Linked DNA regions of Homo sapiens: region 2 is linked to region 1. Evidence: promoter capture Hi-C in 16 types of primary human blood cells and fetal thymus (Javierre and others, 2016). All regions are on one chromosome and are shown on one strand. The core of a region is centred on a gene start or on the middle of the fragment in contact, and the rest is flanking DNA. Distances in the headings are between cores, read along the strand shown.

Region 1 (4,939 bases), core at 1,755-4,254:
GTATGAACGCCAGGCAGAGTGGCGCATGCCTGTAATCCCAGCACTTTGGGAGGCCAAGGTGGGTGGATTGCTTGAGCCCAGGAGTTTGAGGCCAGCCTGGGCAACACGGCAAAACCTCGTCTCTACAAAAAAATACAAAAATTAGCTTGGTATGGTGTTTCACGTCTGTAGTCCCAGCTACTGGGGAGCCTGAGATGGGAGGATCACTTGAGCCTGGGAGGTCAAGGCTGCAGTCAGCCATAATTGTGCCACTGCACTGTAGCCTGGGCAACAGAGTGAGACCCTATCACACACCGGGGCCTGTTGTGGGGTGGGGGGAGGGGGGAGGGATGGCATTAGGAGATATACCTAATGTTAAATGATGAGTTAATGGGTGCAGCACACCAATATGGCACATGTATACATATGTAACTAACCTGCATGTTGTGCACATGTACCCTAAAACTTAAAGTATATAAAAAAAAAAAAAAGCTGGGCACAGTGGCTCACACCTGTAATCCCAGCACTTTGGGAGGCCGAGGCCGGTGGATCGCCTGAACTCAGGAGTTCAAGACCACCCTGGGCAACATGGTGAAACACCGTCTCTACTAAAATACAAAAAATTAGCCAGGCATGGTGACATGTGCCAGTAGTCCCAGCTACTCGGGAGGCTGAGGCACAAGAATCGCTTGAGCCAGGGAGACAGAGGTTGCAGTTGGCCGAGATCACACCACTGCACTCCAGCTTAGGCTACAGAGTGAGACTGCATCTCAAAAAAAAAAAAGAAAAGAAAACCTTGTTTCTTGGGAATTTAAAATTAAACTTCTAAATATTTGAGGCAAAGGAGAAAATAAAGCAATTAAGTAGAAATTACGAAGTAATTAGAAATGAAAATTATACATATGAAAATCTATGGAATGTAGTCAAAGCATAACCCAGTGGAAAATTTATATCTTAATTGCATTGATAAGAAAACAAGGTGTGTGGGAGGATGGGGGGAAATAAAAGCAAATGAATTGAGTTTCCAACTTGAAAAGCCTGCTTGATGGCTGGGCTTGGTGGTTCACACCTATAATCCCAGCTCTTTGGGAGGCCTAGGCAGGTGGATCACTTGAGGTCAGGAGTTCGAGACCAGCCTGGCCAACATGATGAAACTCCATCTCTACCAAAAATATAAAAAAATCAGCCGGGTGGTGGCCGGGCGCGGTGGCTCACGCCTGTAATCCCAGCACTTTGGAAGGCCGAGGCGGGTGGATCATGAGGTCAGGAGATCAAGACCATCCTGGCTAACACGGTGAAACCCCGTCTCTACTAAAAATACAAAAAATTAGCCAGGCGTGGTGGCAGGCGCCTGTAGTCCCAGCTACTCGGGAGGCTGAGGCAGGAGAATGGCCTGAACCCAGGAGGCAGAGGTTGCAGTGAGCCAAGATCGCGCCACTGCACTCCAGCCCAGGCAACAGTGCAAGACTCCATCTCAAAAAAAAAAAAAAAAAAAAATTAGCCAGATGGTGGCACACACCTGTAATCCCAGCTACTCAGGAGGCTGAGGCAGGAGAATCGCTTGAACCCGAGAGGTGGAGGTTGCAGTGAGCCGAGATCACGCCACTGCACTCCAGCCTGGGTGACAGAGCAAGACTCCATCTCAGAAAAAAAAAAGAAAGAAAAAGAAAAGAAAAAAGAAAAAAAGAAAAGCCTGCTTGGAGGAAAGGAAGGAAGGAGCTGGAGAAAGATAATACAATCATCTAACCTCACTCTCAAAGTGTGGTTCCCAGACCACCAGCGCTGGCTGATCAAAATTTATGAAGAATGGTCCCAGGCAGGTTCGATTTTATCTATAATTCTCATTTCTTGAAAAAAAAGCAAGTAAATTTAATAAAATATTAATGCCACAAAGTTGGGTTGTAAATACATAGATGTTTGTCACAGCATTTTATATATTTTTCTATATGCTTGAAGTATTTCATAACTTTTTTTTTTAAAGAAGAAATTAAAAGGCAGGAGACTCACCTCTCCTCCACCTGGGCTCTAGGTTTGGGATAACCCATTTATCAGCTGGAACCCAGAGGAATGTGAGGGCATCACGAAGATGAGTATGGCAGCCAAGAACCTGTGGCTCCCAGACATTTTCATCATTGAACTGTGCGTATCAAGGGCTGGTCAGAGGGAAGTCCCATCTCCTGGTAGCCACAGAGATCACAGTTTACCATTGGGGCCACTGTAAGTGGTCTTTAGATGGCTAAGAAACAACCAGAGAGATAAGAAGAGAAACTGAGCCAGGCGCAGTGGCTAATGCCTGTAATCCCAGCACTTTGGGAGGCCAAGGTGGGTGGATCACTTCAGTTCAGGAGTTTGAGACCAGCCTGGGCAACATGGTGAAACCTCATCTCTTAAAAAAAAAAAAAAAAAAAAAATTAGCCAGGCCTGGTGGTGCGCCTGTAGTCCCAGCTACTTGGGAGGCTGAGGCTGAGACAGGAGGATCATTTGAGCCCAGGACATGGAAGTTGCAGTGAGCTGAGAGCATGCCACTCTACTCCAGCCTGGGTGACAGAGCAAGATCCTGTCTCAAAAAAAAAAAAAAAAAAAAAAGAGAGAGAGAAACTGCAGCACCTGCCTCTTGCGTTATCTCTCCTCCAGCATGGATGTGGATAAGACCCCAAAAGGCCTCACAGCATATGTAAGTAATGAAGGTCGCATCAGGTATAAGAAACCCATGAAGGTGGACAGTATCTGTAACCTGGACATCTTCTACTTCCCCTTCGACCAGCAGAACTGCACACTCACCTTCAGCTCATTCCTCTACACAGGTAAGTTGCAGTGAGGTCTCAGGGATGGGGTGAATGAGAGCAACCAACAAATATAAAGAAACTATGAGTAAATGGTGACCAAGGAGTATGGGTGGGGAGAAGAATAAGGCTCTATGGATGCTAAAATATTTTCCATAAAGGCAGAACCCAAGTCTGTCTTGTTCCTTACCATCCCAAGCTCCTGGCAAGTTTCCTGGCATGTGGGAGGCACTCAAAAATATTTGTTGAAAGAAAGGATGGAAAAAGAGTGCAGTTGAGCCACCAGGAAACTATCTCCTTGAAAAATGATTCAGATGGTTCTCATTTTCAGTGGACAGCATGTTGCTGGACATGGAGAAAGAAGTGTGGGAAATAACAGACGCATCCCGGAACATCCTTCAGACCCATGGAGAATGGGAGCTCCTGGGCCTCAGCAAGGCCACCGCAAAGTTGTCCAGGGGAGGCAACCTGTATGATCAGATCGTGTTCTATGTGAGCTTGGAGGCTCTTACTCTTTCCTTCCTCCCGCACTTTTACCCTTGCCTAGAATGTCCATCAAATATGTATCTCCCAAGTTTCAGGGTCTCCCAATGTTACCCTCTCTCCTGGCTTCCCAGCCTCATTCTTCATCCTAAAGCTCAGGGCTCTGGCCTAACTGTCTCTTTGCAGGTTCTATACCAGATTCTAAAGCTGCATTCCCCACAGCTCCAGATCCCAGGGTGATATCAGGCCAAAGAAAAAGGCAGAGACAGAAATTGTCACTGCTATTCCTGGATTTGAGGGTTCCTCTGACCCCATAACTACTTACCACCCTCTCCTACCCCACCAGGTGGCCATCAGGCGCAGGCCCAGTCTCTATGTCATAAACCTTCTCGTGCCCAGTGGCTTTCTGGTTGCCATCGATGCCCTCAGCTTCTACCTGCCAGTGAAAAGTGGGAATCGTGTCCCATTCAAGATAACGCTCCTGCTGGGCTACAACGTCTTCCTGCTCATGATGAGTGACTTGCTCCCCACCAGTGGCACCCCCCTCATCGGTATGGCTCCTCCCACCTTTTGGAAGAGAAGGGTGGGAACTAACTCAGGAAGGGAGGTATTTTGGAAAAAGGAGGCCGTATGCCTGCCAGGGTGGGATTGGAAGAGAAGAAATTCTAGGTGGTGCCTCTGGCCCTCACTAGGCCCCCCTTCCCTCCAGGTGTCTACTTCGCCCTGTGCCTGTCCCTGATGGTGGGCAGCCTGCTGGAGACCATCTTCATCACCCACCTGCTGCACGTGGCCACCACCCAGCCCCCACCCCTGCCTCGGTGGCTCCACTCCCTGCTGCTCCACTGCAACAGCCCGGGGAGATGCTGTCCCACTGCGCCCCAGAAGGAAAATAAGGGCCCGGGTCTCACCCCCACCCACCTGCCCGGTGAGGGAAGTCACATTCCTCTTCCCCCACCTCCACTTCTCTGCTCCTGCCTCCTTCCCTGTCTCCCTCCCTCCACAGGTGACATTTGCAGCCCATGGCTGAGTCTCTGTCTTTCTGTAGGTGTGAAGGAGCCAGAGGTATCAGCAGGGCAGATGCCGGGCCCTGCGGAGGCAGAGCTGACAGGGGGCTCAGAATGGACAAGGGCCCAGCGGGAACACGAGGCCCAGAAGCAGCACTCAGTGGAGCTGTGGTTGCAGTTCAGCCACGCGATGGACGCCATGCTCTTCCGCCTCTACCTGCTCTTCATGGCCTCCTCTATCATCACCGTCATATGCCTCTGGAACACCTAGGCAGGTGCTCACCTGCCAACTTCAGTCTGGAGCTTCTCTTGCCTCCAGGGACTGGCCAGGTCTCCCCCCTTTCCTGAGTACCAACTATCATATCCCCAAAGATGACTGAGTCTCTGCTGTATTCCATGTATCCCAATCCGGTCCTGCTGATCAATTCCAATCCCAGACATTTCTCCCTGTTCCTGCATTTTGTTGGCTTCCTTCAGTCCTACCATATGGTTCTAGGTCCCTCTTACGTCATCTGCATAGCAGACTATACCTCTTCTGTCCGCTGACTTGCCCAATAAATAATTCTGCAGAGATTTCTGGCTCTTTGTCAGGTCGTAGGGTAGAAACTTAACTAACCACCCGGGTGCAGTGGTTCACGCCTATAATCCCAGCACTTTGGGAGGCCAAGGCAGGTGGATCACCTGAGGTCA
Region 2 (4,939 bases), core at 1,557-4,056, 210 kb before region 1:
AGATTTATTGAGGCATGGCTTATATACAATAACACTCATTTAAGTGTACAGTTGTATGAGTTTTGACAAACACATACAGTTGTGTAACCATCACCACAATCAAGATACAGAACATTTCTATTACCCCAGAAAGTTTCCTCATGTCTTTTTACAGTCAACCTATAACCCTGCTCCCGAATCCTGGCAGCCACTTATCTATGGAATATTTTCTGTCCCTATAGGTTTGCCTTTTTAAGAATATCACAGAAATGGAATCATATAATTCATAGATATGCATTTGTGTGAACATATATTTTCATTTCTTTTGGGTAATACCTAAGATTGGGACTGCTGGGTTGTGTGGTGTAATGTTTAATTTTACAAGAAATTGCCAAACTGTTTTCCAATGTAGTCGTACCTTTTTACATTTCCACCTGCAGGGTATGAGAATTCCATTTGCTTCGCATCTTTTCCAGTACTTGGGATTGTCAGGGTTTTCTTTTTAGCAGTTCTAATCGGTATGTAATGGTATTTCATTTGATTTTAGTTTGCATTTCCTTGATGCAAGTCAGTCTTTTTTTTTCTGAGACAGAGTCTCGCTCTGTCACCCAGGTTGGACTGTAGTGGTATAATCTCCGCCCACTGCAACCTCTGCCTCCAGGAACTCACAAGTCATTCTTTGTTTTTGCTTTTGTTTGTTTGTTTGTTTGTTTGTTTGTTTTTGAGACAGTTTCACTCTTGGATCCCAGGCTGGAGAGCAGTGGTGCGATCTTGGCTCACTGCAACCTCTGCCTTCTGGGTTCAAGCGATTCTCCTGCCTCAGCCTCCCGAGTAGCTGGGATTACAGGTGCCTGCCACCATGCCCGGGTAATTTTTGTATTTTTAGTAGAGATGGGGTTTCACCATGTTTGCCAGGTTGGTCTTGAACTTCTGACCTCAAGTGATCCACCTGCCTCGGTCTCCCAAAGTGCTGGGATTACAGGTGTGAGCCACCATGCCCAGCCACAAGTCATTCTTTTTTAATAAACAAGGCTTGTCTGGAGATGCAAGGATTCAAAATTTAGGGACCCTTGTGTGGAAACTAAAGTGGGTCTTTGGTGAAGAATTTGCTGGAAACAGTTATATGGTCTGCTGGCTTTGCTGTATTGAGATGGTGAGATCTTTCTCTGCCCCAGGTCTGCAGAGAACTGCAGTTCTTCCTTCTGGTCAGGAGAGGGCAGGAGAAGGCAGAAAATAAGCTGCCCCCGCTTCACTTTTTTTTTTTTTTTTTTTTTTTTTGGTTTACCAGTCCCCGGCATCTAGAGTATTCGCATTTGCATGCATTATTATATTCATAGTTTTGCTCGAAAGTTTGCCTTTTCCTCTGAACCTAGTTAGCTGCTGCCTTGTGAGGCTTGATTCCCCAATATTAACTTTGTGGACTGATTTAATGCCAAACTTAACCAATCTTATAAAATCTTCGCCTGCCAAAGCATAACTAACCTAATTTAAGAATTGAACTACCCAAACTGAGCTACCTCTGTAGAATCCTTGCTAAGTCTATTCTCCAGTGTCACCCCACAGAGCTTGTGTTAGGGGCAACCATGAGCAGCTGAGCTGCATGAACCCCTGGTCCTCCTCTTTTCTAACTTTGCAGGAACCAAAAGAGACTGAGGAAGGACTTCATGGGGGACAGGCCTCCAGACCCCCAGTGGCTACAGGCCATCCTCCCTAGGACCAGGGCTGGGGCTGCTCAGGCGGGGCACTGCGCAGATCTCCTGGGGCTGGGGTTGCCAAGTGCCGCCAAAGATGTACTCCAGCTTGAGCCCCGGGCTCCCTTCTGGCAGTTGGAACCGAAAGGTCCTGAGGAGGGTGGCAAACATCAGGAAGAGCTCCATTTGAGCCAGCTGGTCTGCTGGGTAGACACGATGCCCTGGAAACAGAGAGAAAAGTCAGAGGTGGCAGCTGTCCCTGTGTCTGTCCCACCACAGCCCCACCCACCACCCAGGATCCAGCTCTGTGCCTAGTACCTGCAGAGAATGGCAGGAAGGCCTCATTGGCCACAAAGTTTCCATCCTTGTCCGAGAAGTGGCCAGGGTTGAACTGTCGAGGGGTCTCCCAGCACTCAGGGTCATAGAGCACAGAGGCCAGGTTGGGTAAGATGATGGTGCCCTGCAGAGAGATGCTGGTGTGGCTCAGGGAGCCTCAGATGGTACCCAGTACCCAGCCCTGACACTGAGCCACAGTGAGCTTGGAGAATACCCAGTGTGTTGGTGGGAGTAGTCCAGGGGCCTTGAGGAGACTCAGCAGCCGGCCCTCAGGCTGCCCTTCCTCCAGGCTCACATCAGTGAAGGAGCTGAGCAGGACACCCTCCTGGCTAAGGACTGCCCAGCTTTGTCCTGAAGACTCCCAGCCACGTCTAGGGACATGAAGCCATTGCCTCCTACAGAGAAGGCCAACAGCTGGGGGCATGTCTGGAAGGGGCCAAGGACAGCCCAGGACAATACACACTGGGGCAGGGGATGTGTGCACACGTGGGTGTTAAGAGGAAGAGACAGAACGAGGAGAAATGGAATGGCAAACAAGCAGAGAAAGAGGAACTGAGTGATGGAAAGACAGAGAGGAGACAGCAAGCTTCACTCTTTAGGGTTGGGGAGAGGAAAACATGAACCATAAGCCCAACTCTAACCTTCAACCTAACCCCAACCCTCACCTTCCCCCAAACCCAAACCCAAATCTTCCCTCTCACCCTCACCTCAGCCCTCACTCTATCTCAAAGGAGAAGTGAGTGATTAGAAAGAGAATCAGACCAAGCAGATGGGAGCAGGGTAACATCTGCTCCTTACCATGTGGGCCCTGGGCTGACCGGAAACAGCATAAGGAGGCCAAAGTGGAGCCAGGATGGGGTCGGTTATGGTCCCCAGCCCTAGAACACTCAGCTCTGGGATTCCGGGGAAGGCCTCATACCCCAGGGCTCATTTACCAAATACCACAAAATTAAACCAGCTATCCCTGTAGAGACCAGAGGGCTGACTACAGAATTCTTGATTCTGACCAAAGAAAAAGCTTGAAATTAAAAAAAAAAAAAAAAGCTTAGCGAGTTTGAAGCCTGCATTCTAAACAGAAACCAATAAAGAATGCAGAAATGGAGCAGCAGATGCTGGCTGGTCGCAGTGGCTCACACCTGTAATCCCAGCACTTTGGGAGGCCAATCAGGGCGGATCGCTTGAGGTCAGGAGTTTGAGACCAGCCTGGCCAACACGGTGAAACCCCATCTCTACTAAAAATACAAAAATTAGTCGGGCGTGGTGGCAAGTGCCTATAGTCTCAGCTACTCGGGAGGCTGAGGCAGGCAAAGGTTGTAGTGAGCCAAGATCACGCCTCTGCATTCCAGCCTGGGCGACAGAGCAAGATTCCATCTAAAAAAACAAAACAACAACAACAAAAAAAAAAACAGAATGCAGAAATTGTTTTCAGGGGAAATTGTTCTTTTTTGCCGTTGTTGCAGTACGGCACGCTTAGGCAAGGTGCCTCATCCTAGCCATGTGTACCAATAGGGCACCCAGACTTGCTCACTCTGTAGCTTCAAGCAGAGGTGTTGGGGAGGCCTGTGTTCTTGCTGCTGCCTGAGTGAGCTATAGATTTCCCAGTTCTAGTCATGGGAATTCCCCCATTTTCTCTACCTGGGATTAAGTAACCTCTGCATTGCAACGGTTCTTACTAATCACCTTCAGAGGAGGAGGCTCCTAGCAAGATGCTCTTTTCCCTCCAGAATTATTTGTGTCCTTTTTTGGGTGATGTTCTGGCCTCCTTGCAAAGGAGGTTCTCAGCTCATGGAACAGGTTCAGAGCACAGCCTATCCAGTATGCAAAAAGGACAGCGCCCCGCCCCCCGCAACAACCGCCCTCCACTTCCCCAGACTGTAGAACCATCTACCTGCTGGGTACCTCCTGGGGTCGCTGTGCCAGCTTCTGCCCAGTAAATGGCAATTTGGAATTCGCAATCAAATAGAATGTCTGAGAAGAGAGACAGGCTGGAAGTGCAACCGTCGTATCAGGGACTATTGCTGTTGTCACGATCACTCAGCTGATGAAATGGTTAGGAACAGTTTAGGAATATCTGTAACATTTAATGATCTACTGTCAAGCTTTGATTCCACTTTCAGCAGACATCTCTCGTCCAAGTTGTAAAAGCTCAATATTGATTTCAGCTCGTTAATGGGCCCCTGGAGCCTTTATCACAGAACAAGTCCTAGAATCAAATTGGCAGGAATGAGCTCTTAATAAGGAAATTTCTAATCCCAAACGGCATAACACAGAGCAGTACCCTGGCCCCCTCTTTTTAACTTAAGTTGGCACAGCTTCTAGACAACCTGGGCCTGGGTCCTTCTGCCACGCCAGCAGCAAGATGACCTGATGCCCTGGTCCTATCCACTTTCCCAGAGACTCTTGACAAACCTGTAAACTTGCTGGCCAATTTCTGCCAAGGACAGAATGACAGTGTAAAACATCTCCATTGAACACATTGGTTCACTTACCTAGAGTGGCATTTTCGTATAAATACAAACAGCAGGGCATATGGTAGGAAAAGAAAACACTTTAGAGTCAGAGGGACATGCATTTGAAACTCAGCTAAGTCACTTACTAGCTGTGTTTGGGCAGTTTCTTAAGCTGCCTATGCTGAAGTTTCTCTATCTATGGAAAAGAAACAGCAACAAAGCGTCCGAAGGATAGGGCTTCTGTGAAGAAAAAAATCTGTGGAGGAAGGAACCTCAAGTCTGGGCAAATTAATAATAAGTTAATAATGGGGCTGGGCATGGCGGCTTATGCCTGTAATCCCAGCACTTTGAGAGGCAGAGGCAGGAGTTCAAGACCAGCCTGGCCAACCTGGTGAAACCCCGTCTTTACTACAAATTAAAAAAAAAATAAAAATAATAAAAATTAGCTGGACGTGGTGGCACGTGCCTGTAATACCAGCTACT

Evidence for each region. The method cuts DNA at HindIII sites, captures the fragments that hold promoters and counts their contacts. A CHiCAGO score of 5 or more calls a contact.
Region 2: a fragment that was not itself captured here is called in contact with the fragment with the promoter of HTR3E-AS1 in region 1 in 1 of 17 cell types (M1 macrophages); the score reaches 5.1 in M1 macrophages.

Annotation. Positions count from the first base shown.
Region 1 is chr3:184,102,174-184,107,112 of GRCh38, forward strand. HTR3E-AS1 (HTR3E antisense RNA 1) reads right to left here and starts at 3,005. Exons shown (of 3, transcript NR_133658.1): 1 at 2,953-3,005; 2 at 1,987-2,215. HTR3E (5-hydroxytryptamine receptor 3E) reads left to right here. Exons shown (of 9, transcript NM_001256613.2): 4 at 2,009-2,118; 5 at 2,614-2,783; 6 at 3,094-3,254; 7 at 3,592-3,796; 8 at 3,955-4,170; 9 at 4,291-4,822. The coding sequence ends at 4,520. The HindIII fragment of the contact is 6,162 bases long and covers 1-4,939 here.
Region 2 is chr3:183,894,227-183,899,165 of GRCh38, forward strand. It overlaps the pseudogene CYP2AB1P. Among named protein-coding and RNA genes, the nearest start is that of MIR4448, 9.9 kb to the left of the region's middle. The HindIII fragment of the contact is 432 bases long and covers 2,591-3,022 here.